3 separate regions of the Homo sapiens genome follow, and regions 1 and 2 are each linked to region 3. Evidence: promoter capture Hi-C in 16 types of primary human blood cells and fetal thymus (Javierre and others, 2016). All regions are on one chromosome and are shown on one strand. The core of a region is centred on a gene start or on the middle of the fragment in contact, and the rest is flanking DNA. Distances in the headings are between cores, read along the strand shown.

Region 1 (3,096 bases), core at 50-2,549, 2.2 Mb after region 3:
TTATAAAACAAAATGTTGATACATCTGTTACCTCTTTCAAGCCTCCCAATAACATTTCTACTAACACCACCCAAAATATTTTTAAAAGACAGGTCTCTCATTCTTTTCGGTCCCTCATACTACACCCCAATTATCTTCAGGTGTCCTCTCAATCTTACAAAAACATTTACAAAACTGTCCTCTCAATGGCACAAGAATACTTACAAATCTCTTATTCTTTCTACCGCTCCTTTTATTCCTCCAACACCACCTGTATCTAAAAATCCCTACATACTGTTAGGTATACTCCTCCACCAATTAATGCTGCATACCAGTGTAGCCCTTTCAACCTTCAACTAAACTTACAGAAACCTCTTTTTTCCAACCTCTATGTATCTAAAAGTCATCAGTTCCCCTAGCACTATCAAGCCCTCAATAATACTTTAAAATCCCTTAATATCCTTGCTATCACACTTATCACCTCCCCAATAATTTCTAAAACCCTTCAATGCCCACACATCCTTTTCATCTACTCCATAGTATTTTTCAAATCCTTCAATATTCTTGATCCCTCAGAACTTACCAATAATCGCTATACAGTTTCAATGTCCCTGCTATCCGCTTCTGCCCTCATATTTCGAAAATGCCCTCGATATTTTGCTTCTAGACCTTTCAGTCCCGGAATAATAATGTTTATCAAACCCTTGATATTCTGCTATTCCCTTCGACATCTCAATATTCACATTTTAAAAATCCCTCAAGAGCCCCGTTACCTCTCTCTCAGTTCTCAAACAGCAATGTTTTAAATTCCCTCACGGCCCCTGCTACCCCTTCCAGCACCCCGATATTTGCGTTTGAAAAGCCTTCGCTGTCCTTGCCTGCCCCCCCAGTCCCCATATTCACGGCGCCTCTCCGTCCCCAGCGCTCCTCTCCCACCCTCACCCCCACCACAATGGTGATAGTACTACAGGGAAGGCGTCGCCGGGACCTCCCGGCCGCGGCCCCTCAGCGCCGCCCCCCACGCCACCTCCCCTCCCCCACGCCCCCGCGAGCCCCCAACGCCCACGTTCGCCGGCCCCGGCCCAGCCCGGCTCACTCACATCGGCTCCAGTAACTTGGCCAGCCAGGACTTGAGGGCATCCACATCCTCTATGAGCATGGTGCAGGGAAGGCGGGCTCGGCCGCCGCTCTTCTTCAGGCCTGCCGTGGGTCTCCACTACGCCGCCCCCTCACGTTCCCTTCACAGCTCCCGGTGCCCCAGCCCACCGGGCATCTTAGGAGACTTCAACCTACTCCCCCGGCCGGGGCCTAACAGGAACTAACCCAAGAGCCCTCACTCAACCTAGCCCGAAGGCTGAGGTGGGCGGGAGACAGTGCCGAGTGGCAGGCCTGAGAACCAGTAAGAGAGAGGGGGCCCTGAGGGCAAGACCAATGAAAAGGCTCGCTCGCCCCGCCGGCAGGCGGTACCCAGTCAGGGAGGAGAGATATAGCAAGGTAGGTGGAGAGCTTAAGTGAACTCCTGGTGCAAGATGGTATCTTGGAAAAGGTGCTTTGCCTCTTAAAGGGGCAGCGGCGCCTTTTTTTGACCACGCCGCCGCCCGCCGCGGAATACCGGTGTCTGCTGCTGGGAGTGCCTGGGGGAACCCGGCGAGCCCCTCAGCCTGGTTCCTTCCTCTCGTTTTTCTTGGAAACACACACTCGTGTCCCGAAATGACTCAGCTGTAGTAAATCTGCAACACAACGTGCAATACGTTCACGTTCGACACATTGCACAGAATGCAAAATTTTACTTTTTTTCTTTACACACTCATGTTGATTGGCACTCACGTTTGTATTTTCTGCTGCTCTGCTTTAATTACGCAGAATGTTTCTGACAACCATGCCTTGGAATCCAGTAATCGTCATTTTTAAAACGTGGCGCACGGATGTAAAAGGCTGAGGCCATTTCAATTTTGCTAGTACTATTAATAAATGTTGCTTTATTTAGGAAGAAAAATGACTCCAATAGTTTGTTTTTAATTATCTTTTCATTGTATATCTAAAATTCAGTGGTTGGGGGACGGGAAGGGAGAATTTTAATCAGCAAAGAAGGATTACAAAAAAATTTTTAAGACAAATTAGAAACTACTGAAATAGTCAACTTACTTTCTAGTAGGTGAGAAATTCTTTCTGGAGTTTTGAAATCACTGATTTAGCACTGATGTTAAAATGTTTACCCAATAACATATACTGAGTCCCTGCAATTGCCAGCACTGAGTAAGGCACTAGGAGTCCAATGCTGAGCAAAACAGAGCTTCTCCTCTTAAGATGATGAACAGTTTATGGGGTTATGCATTGTAATAACATTTTGAAAAATACCTAATGAGCACGCACCTCATATAAAAGAAATGGATCAACCTCAAATAAACAGACATCCTATATATACATAGAACAGGTATAGGCAAACTTCTGCAAAGGATCAGATACTAAATATTTTGGTTTTGTGAGCCTTGAGGTATCTATGGCAACTACTCGTCATACAATGTCTTGGCTTAAAATTAACCAGGGACAATATGTAAATGGAATGATTGTGGCTGTATTACAAACATTTATTAAAATTATATAAAATTTTAAATTTATATAATTTTCACATACCATGAAATATTATCTTTTCATTTTTTTCTCCATTTAAAAATGTAGGCCAGGCTGGGCGCGGTGCCTCACACCTGTAATCCCAGCATTTTGGGAGGCCAAGGCGGGTGGATCACCTGAGGTCAGGAGTTCCAGACCAGCCTGACCAACATGGTGAAACCAGTCTCTACTAAAAATACAAAATTTGCCAGGCATGGTGGCACACGCCTGCAATCCCAGGTACTCGGGAGACTGAGGCAGGGGAATCGCTTGAACCCAGGAGGCAGAGGTTGCAGTGAGCCAAGATCGTGACAAGAGCCAAAGAAACTCCATCTCAAAAAAAAAAGGGGGGGCTTGGCACGGTGACTCATGCCTGTAATCCCAGCACTTTGGGAGGCCCAGACGGGTGGATCACCTGAGGTCAGGAGTTCCAGACAAGCTTGGCCAACATGGTGAAACCCCGTCTCTACTAAAGATACAAAAATTAACCGGGCATGGGACGGGCGT
Region 2 (3,373 bases), core at 414-2,913, 2.2 Mb after region 3:
TGCAGTGCTGCCATCTTGGCTTACTGCAATTTCCACCTCCCGGGTTCAAGTGATTCTCCTGTCTCAGCTTCCCAGCAGCTGGTATTACAGGCGCGTGACACCACGCCTGGCTAATTTTTGTATTTTTAGTAGAGACGGGGTTTCACCATCTTGGCCAGCCTGGTCTCGAACCTCTGACCTCGTGATCCACCTGCCTCGGCCTCCCAAAGTGCTGGGATTACAGGTGTGAGACACCGTACCCGACCAGTCTTTTTTTTTCCCTTGAGATGAAGTCTCGCTCTGCCGCCCAAGATAGAGTGCAGTGGTGCGATCTCGACTCAGTGCACCCTCTGCCTCCTGGGTTCAAGCAATTTTCCTGCCTCAGCCTCCCGAGTAGCCGGGACTACAGGTGCACGCCACCATACCCAGCTAATTTTCGTATTTTTAGTAGAGACGGGGTTTCACCATGTTGGCCAGGCTGGTCTCAAACTCCTGACCTCAGGTCATCCGCCCACCTCGGCATCCCAAAATAATGGGATTATGGCCACCGCCCCTGGCCCTGTTTGGTAGTGGTCTAAATAGTCTGAGTCAGGCAATGGGACCAGGTAGGCTTTCAGTCTCTTGCTTAAAAATGGAGATTGTTGGCCGGGCACGGTGGCTCACGCCTGTAATCCCATCACTTTGGGAGGCTGGGGCGGGCGGATCACGAGTTCAGGAGATCGAGACCATCCTGGCCAATATGGTGAAACCCCGTTTCTACTGAAAATACAAAAATTAGCTGGGCGCGGTGGCGCGCGCCTGTAGTCCCAGCTACTAAGGAGGCTGGGGCAGAAGAATCGCTTGAACCCGGGAGGCGGAGGTTGCAGTGAGCCGAAACCGCGCCACTGCACTCCAGCCTGGAGACAGAACGAAACTCCCTCTCAAAAAAAAAAAAAAAAAAAAAAAAAAAAAAGGAGATTGTTGGCTAGGTACGGTAGCTCACGCCTGTAATCCTAGCACTTTGGGAGGCCGAGGGAGGCAGATCACGAGGTCAGGAAATCGGGATCATCCTGGCTAACAAGGTGAAACCCAGTCTCTACCAAAAATACAAAAAATTAGTCGGTGTGGTGGCGCGCGCCCATAGTCCCAGCTCCTCGGGAGCCTGAGGCAGGAGAATTGCTTGAATCCGGCAGGCCGAGGTTGCACTGAGCCAAGATCGCGCCACTGCACTCCAGCCTGGGCGACAGAGCGATACTGCGTCTCAAAAAAAAAAAAGGAGATTGTCAATACGCGGTTATACAATGTCTAAATGCTGGGCTGTTGAATGCCACTGACAGTAAAAAATATCTGTGCATAGTGGCAAGCCATAAGTAGCACCTCAGTCACCGTATAGTAATTAACTGCGTATCCTGGCATCCCGACAGGCAACCAGCTCTACCGGGTGAAAAGGTTGATGGCCAAGGGACTCCAACCTAACCAGGGCGCACTCGCGGCATTCTGCGATCCCGCACTGCATCATGGACTTTGTAGTTCAACATGCCAGTGACGTCACTGCCGGTTCCCCTCTGAGTGGGCCTATCGGGTAGACTTCCGATAACCCGTTTTTCTCTGGGAATTGTAGTCAGTTAGCGCCTGCTGGGTGTCTGCTCGGGTGGTCTGGGAACTACAATTCCCGGCGGGCTGTGAGATGCCTTGGCTGTAGTTAGTAAGGAGCCGGATGATTGCCTCAGCAGGTGTGAAGCGTGTGCTTTAGTTTCGTGGGAGGCCTGGCATCCCCGAGAGGGAGGGGAAAGGTAACCACTCCTTTGTGGAGGTCGCCAGGGTCATTGTCGTGGATTTGCACAGTCGGCTGGGCGGTGCAATGGCGGTGAGTTTGAGCGAGAAGAATCCGCAGGGGCCCTGGAGCCGGACTGGCCAGTCTCTAGGGGCTCTCCATGTGCTGTCCTGAAGGGAAAGTCCTTTTCTAAAAGAGAGCCACGCTTAAGGCGTGCCTTTCGTAGAGACTTTGCTTTTTCTTGCTAGTTTATGAACCACGAACTGATGTCTGTTAACTTTACGGAGTACTTGGATATCATATTTGTTATTTCTCTGGAGTTTCTAAAATCGAGGTGGAGAGCCGGGCACGGTGGCCCACGGCTGTAATCCCAGCACTTTGGGAGGCCGAGGCGGGTGGATCATTTGAGGTCAGGAGTTCGAGACCACCCTGGCCAACATGGTGAGACCCCGTTTCTACCAAAAATACATAAATTAGCCGGGCGTAGTGGTGCGCGCCTGTTAACCCAGCTACTCGGGAGGCTGAGGCAGGAGAATTGCTTGAACCCGGGAGAGGGAGGCTGCTGTGAGCCAGGATCGCGCCACTGCACTCCAGCCTGGGCGACAGAGTGAGACTCCGTCTTAAAAATAAAATAAATAAATAAACAAACAAATAAAGCCGAGGTGGAGAGAGGAGTATGTAAGTTGATTCCTACTTACAGCAAAAAAAAAAAAAAAAAAAAAAAAAAAAAAAGAAAAAATTGAGCGCCTCTCCGTAAAACAGACAAAAATCTCTCTTTTCATAGTGTTTATGTGTGTGGGTAAAATACATTGTAAAATATTGTGTCAGGTGCTGATAAATGCTGTGGGGAAAAAATAGAGCAGGAAGGGGTGCTAGGGAGTGTACGGTGGGGTAGTACAGTTGCAATTTTTAAAAATTTTTTTAAATTTGGGAGATGTTCTCACTCTGTGACCCAGACTGGAATGCAGTGGCGTGATCATGGCTCACTGCAGCCTGGACCTTAGGGCTCAAGCGATCCTCACACCTCAGCCTCCCCACAGCTGGTACTGCAAGCGTGCTCCATTACACCCTGCTAATTTTTTGTATTTTTAGTAGAGACAGGGTTTCGAACTCCTGGGGTCAAGCGATCCTTCTGTCTCAGCCTCCGAAAGTGCTGGGACTACAGGCATGAGCCATCCCGCCTGGTTTTATTTTTTTTTGTTTTTTGTTTGTTTGTTTGTTTTTTTCTTGAGACGGAGCCTTGCCCTGTCGCCAGGCTGGAGTGCAGCGGCGCGATCTCGGCTCACTGCAACCTCCTCCTCCCAGGTTCAAGCGGTTCCCCTGCCTCAACTTCCCGAGTAGCTGGGACTACAGGCGCGCGCCACCATGCCCAGTTAAATTTTTTGTATTTTAGTAGAGACAGGGTTTCACCACATTGGCCAGGATGGACTCAATTTCCTGACCTCGTGATCTGCCCGCCTCGGCCTCCCAAAGTGCTGGGATTACAGGCGTGAGCCATGGCGCCTGGCCTGTTGCAATTTTTAAAAGGATGATCAAGCAAGGCTTTGCCAAAAAGGTGGCAAAAACGAGGTAAGAGAGCAACCTATGCAACTATAGGAAGAAAGAGATTTCCAGGCAGGGGCAACAGTGTAAGTGAAAAGC
Region 3 (3,160 bases), core at 414-2,913:
ACCCCCCAACAGGATGATGGTGCTGAAAAAGGCCTAGGAATCATCCAGCTCAACCCTTCGTTTTACAGATAAGGAAAGTGAGGCCTAGAGATGTTAGATGGCTTGTCCAAAGTCACAGAGGCAGGATGTACCAGTGTGAAGCAGGGATACAGGTCTTCAACTCCTTTTTAATTTTATTTCACTATACCACCTTATTTCATTTTAGTATACCACCAATTTTACTTCACTATATCACCCTATCTTACTGGAATCTAGTTGTCCCTTTTTCTCCTCTGCTATGCATTAGTATCTGTTTGACTAAATATAAAGTGTGTACCTCTGGGCACACAGCCATTTAAACAAAGAGGCACACAAAACTCTACATTCTTTACCCAAGGAGGACATCAGAATTACAGCATCACATATTTTAAAGAGGGGAAAGAAGGCTTACAGATAATCTAAAATGTTAATTCTCAAAATGAAAGTTAAAAATTACAAGCGGATTTTTTTCAGTCTATGCCTATGTAATACATACCCTCCAGACTGGACCTCCTCCTTCCCTGGGAAAATCATGGCTTTATAGAACTATTATTTTATCCTTCACTTGTGCTGGGGGAATGGGAAAGGGGATTAAAAACCAGTGACCTAATCCAACGTCTTCCTTTAGCAGATAAAAAAATCTCAAGTTCAGAGAGAGGAAGGGATTTGGCCAAAGTAAACCATCAAGTTAATAGCAACTTTGGAACAAAAATCAAGGTCTCCTGTTTTTCACTTTGTAGTGATTTACACTGCTGGTTTAGGTGTATAAAACAAAGTTTTCTGGACAGAGCTTCTCATTGCACAGGAACCTTCCTAAGTGACCAGTTGCCCTTGGCCAGCTTGGTGTCTGCAAAGAAACACGGTAGACATCTCTTAGTCAAATTCTGGGTGTGCAGAGTGCAGGGAGAATATGCTTTTCAGGTCTGTAAAGACTCCATGAAAAGGGAGTTAAGAATCTGATTTCCACAGCTAGGGCACGGACATCAAAGGCATCCAACACAGATAAGCAAACTGCAGCACAGAAAAGCTAATGGACCTAGACAAGGTCACACGGTGTGTAGGTGGAAGGGGTGAAACTAGAATTCAGGGCTCCTGATACTCAGGCGTGGCAGCCAAAGATGTGTTCACTGCTTCCTGCTCAGGGACATCTCCTCACTACGCTGAACACAGACCTCCTTCACTTTACTGGCCGAAACACCGACTTAACATTAAAATCATGAAATTCGTGACGCCCGGGGTGGGAGACAGTCACAGAAGCTGTCCAGTCCAACACCCTCACCCATTTCATTGAGGAAACTGGGGCCCAGAGAGAGTTCTTTATGCTGGATTTTGGGGCCAGGTTCAGACAAGCAGGCAACCCCCGCAAGCACGGCCTAGAAGGCCAGGAACTACAAATTCAACCCCTGATCTCTCAAGGAGCTCTAGGCCCCAAGGGGGCCAGAGGCCGAGCTTAAGCGGTCGGAAGTTCCAGAATCCCCACCCAGCTACCTCAGCCCTGCCGCACGCACTCCGGGCTTTGCCACCCCGCTCCCGGTCCCCAGGCCCACTCAGCCGCCGCCTCACCTACGCCGACCCTCCGCCTGTTATTGTGGTTGAGAGGGAGGGACGCTACAGACACTTCCCCGGCCCCTACCGCTGAGGCACTTCCGCTTCCGCCGCCGCTCGCATATTTCCGGAGTGTTGTCATCCGGGGCTGGAGCCTCAAACCCGTGTCCATATTGTGTGTGTGAAGAAGCATCGAAGCGCGGCAGCCATGTTCAGCGTGGCATTTCGGAAGGCTTGTCAGGGGTGGAGAAGCGGGGCGGGTTGCTGTTCTTTCACCTGACACTAAAGCGCCATGCCGGAAGCACTGAGTCTGATACGTCGGAACCAGTCTCCACCGTGTGGTTTGGTCTTGATTTCCACTGGTACTCTGGGGTCTTGGATAAGTCTCTGGACCTCGCCTTTGTCATTTGCGAAGTCGATAGGTTCCAATAGAGATTTTCCCAGAATCATTCAACTAAAAATAGAGAACTTTTTTTTTTTGAGAGGAAGGACGGGGGCGCAGTTAAAGATGTTAATGTTAAGTCATCCCTTCTGTGATTTCGGGACATTATCTTTGCACGTAAGTAATAGTATTTTACAGTCCAAAGGAATTTCACATGAGTGTCATTAAAAACTCTACACGACTCTGACATGTAGGCAAGGATCAACTTAATCACCTTTTCTGTTGTTTAATGGATAAGGAATTGTCTTCAGAGAGTGTAATTGATTTTCACAATGTCTCGCAGATGGACTGAAATTCAGATTTTTACCTTTTACATCCTGTGTTCTTGCCCTAATATACATGTAATTAATATGGGCTAAAATCCCTAGATTTAAATAGATACAAATACTTCTTAGGAAAGTTAGTGTGCATTAAAGCCATGTGAGACACAATTTGACAAGACGTAGCATTGACTAGGCTATTCTGCTGGAGAAGAAAAAGCTGAAGAAGGCTTGGGAATCCCATTTCTTCTTATTCTTTTCTTGATTGATAGCAGACCTACTGGTTTTTCCCCTCTTTCCCCAATATGGTTCGGCACCTTAGGTTTCAGCTTGTCTTAGGCAGTCACAGTTTTAGCTATCCCATTCCGTATGTCAAACCATATATCTGTGTTTTTATTTGGAGCTCTGGTAGGACAAACAAAACAAAACCTCATCATATTCATGTACTATTCATTGTAATCTCAGCTTTCATGTTACATTCTTCCTGTAATTGAAGACAAAAATGAATTTTTATGCTATTTGCTTCTGTCGGTTTCTTCATATTCAAACTTTAATAAAGGAAACAGACTTTAGCTTTTTCTGTTTCCCAGGTTATTCTGAAGAATAAATAGGAATTACGAAAGTTTCTAGTGCAGGGCATGGCATATTTAGAAGGCATTCAGTAAGATTTATTTCAGCACAATTGGCCTGAATTTTTAATTCAATGGAATATGATTTTCATTTTATTAGCATTCCTCCTTTTGTAAAAAGCACTGTAGTGGGACCTGAAATGAATACTCATGAGTAAGAAAGGTTTCCTACCTCAAGTTTAGAAAATTTCCTACCACAAATCATTGTAATAAATGTTAAAGATATTTTCTCACTGCTATGAGTGTTATATATAATAAGATATCAA

Evidence for each region. The method cuts DNA at HindIII sites, captures the fragments that hold promoters and counts their contacts. A CHiCAGO score of 5 or more calls a contact.
Region 1: the fragment with the promoter of RBM27 here is called in contact with the fragment with the promoter of FBXO38 in region 3 in 1 of 17 cell types (naive CD8 T cells); the score reaches 5.3 in naive CD8 T cells.
Region 2: a contact is called between the fragment with the promoter of LARS1 here and the fragment with the promoter of FBXO38 in region 3, in 3 of 17 cell types (total CD4 T cells, fetal thymus and naive CD4 T cells). The highest score is 7.2, in total CD4 T cells.

What each region holds. Positions count from the first base shown.
Region 1 is chr5:146,201,808-146,204,903 of GRCh38, reverse strand. It overlaps RBM27 (RNA binding motif protein 27), which reads right to left and starts at 1,299. Exons shown (of 21, transcript NM_018989.2): 1 at 1,080-1,299. The coding sequence starts at 1,138. RBM27-POU4F3 (RBM27-POU4F3 readthrough) reads right to left here and starts at 1,299. Exons shown (of 20, transcript NM_001414499.1): 1 at 1,080-1,299. The coding sequence starts at 1,138. RefSeq lists enhancers at 1,084-1,243, 1,714-1,863. The HindIII fragment of the contact is 5,706 bases long and covers 1-3,030 here.
Region 2 is chr5:146,180,940-146,184,312 of GRCh38, reverse strand. LARS1 (leucyl-tRNA synthetase 1) reads left to right here and starts at 1,663. Exons shown (of 32, transcript NM_020117.11): 1 at 1,663-1,825. The coding sequence starts at 1,820. RefSeq lists enhancers at 225-1,071, 1,980-2,139. The HindIII fragment of the contact is 6,101 bases long and covers 1-3,373 here.
Region 3 is chr5:148,382,461-148,385,620 of GRCh38, reverse strand. It overlaps FBXO38 (F-box protein 38), which reads right to left and starts at 1,663. Exons shown (of 22, transcript NM_205836.3): 1 at 1,582-1,663. It overlaps FBXO38-DT (FBXO38 divergent transcript), which reads left to right and starts at 1,771. Exons shown (of 5, transcript NR_105057.1): 1 at 1,771-2,122. RefSeq lists an enhancer at 1,687-1,886. The HindIII fragment of the contact is 17,680 bases long and covers 1-3,160 here.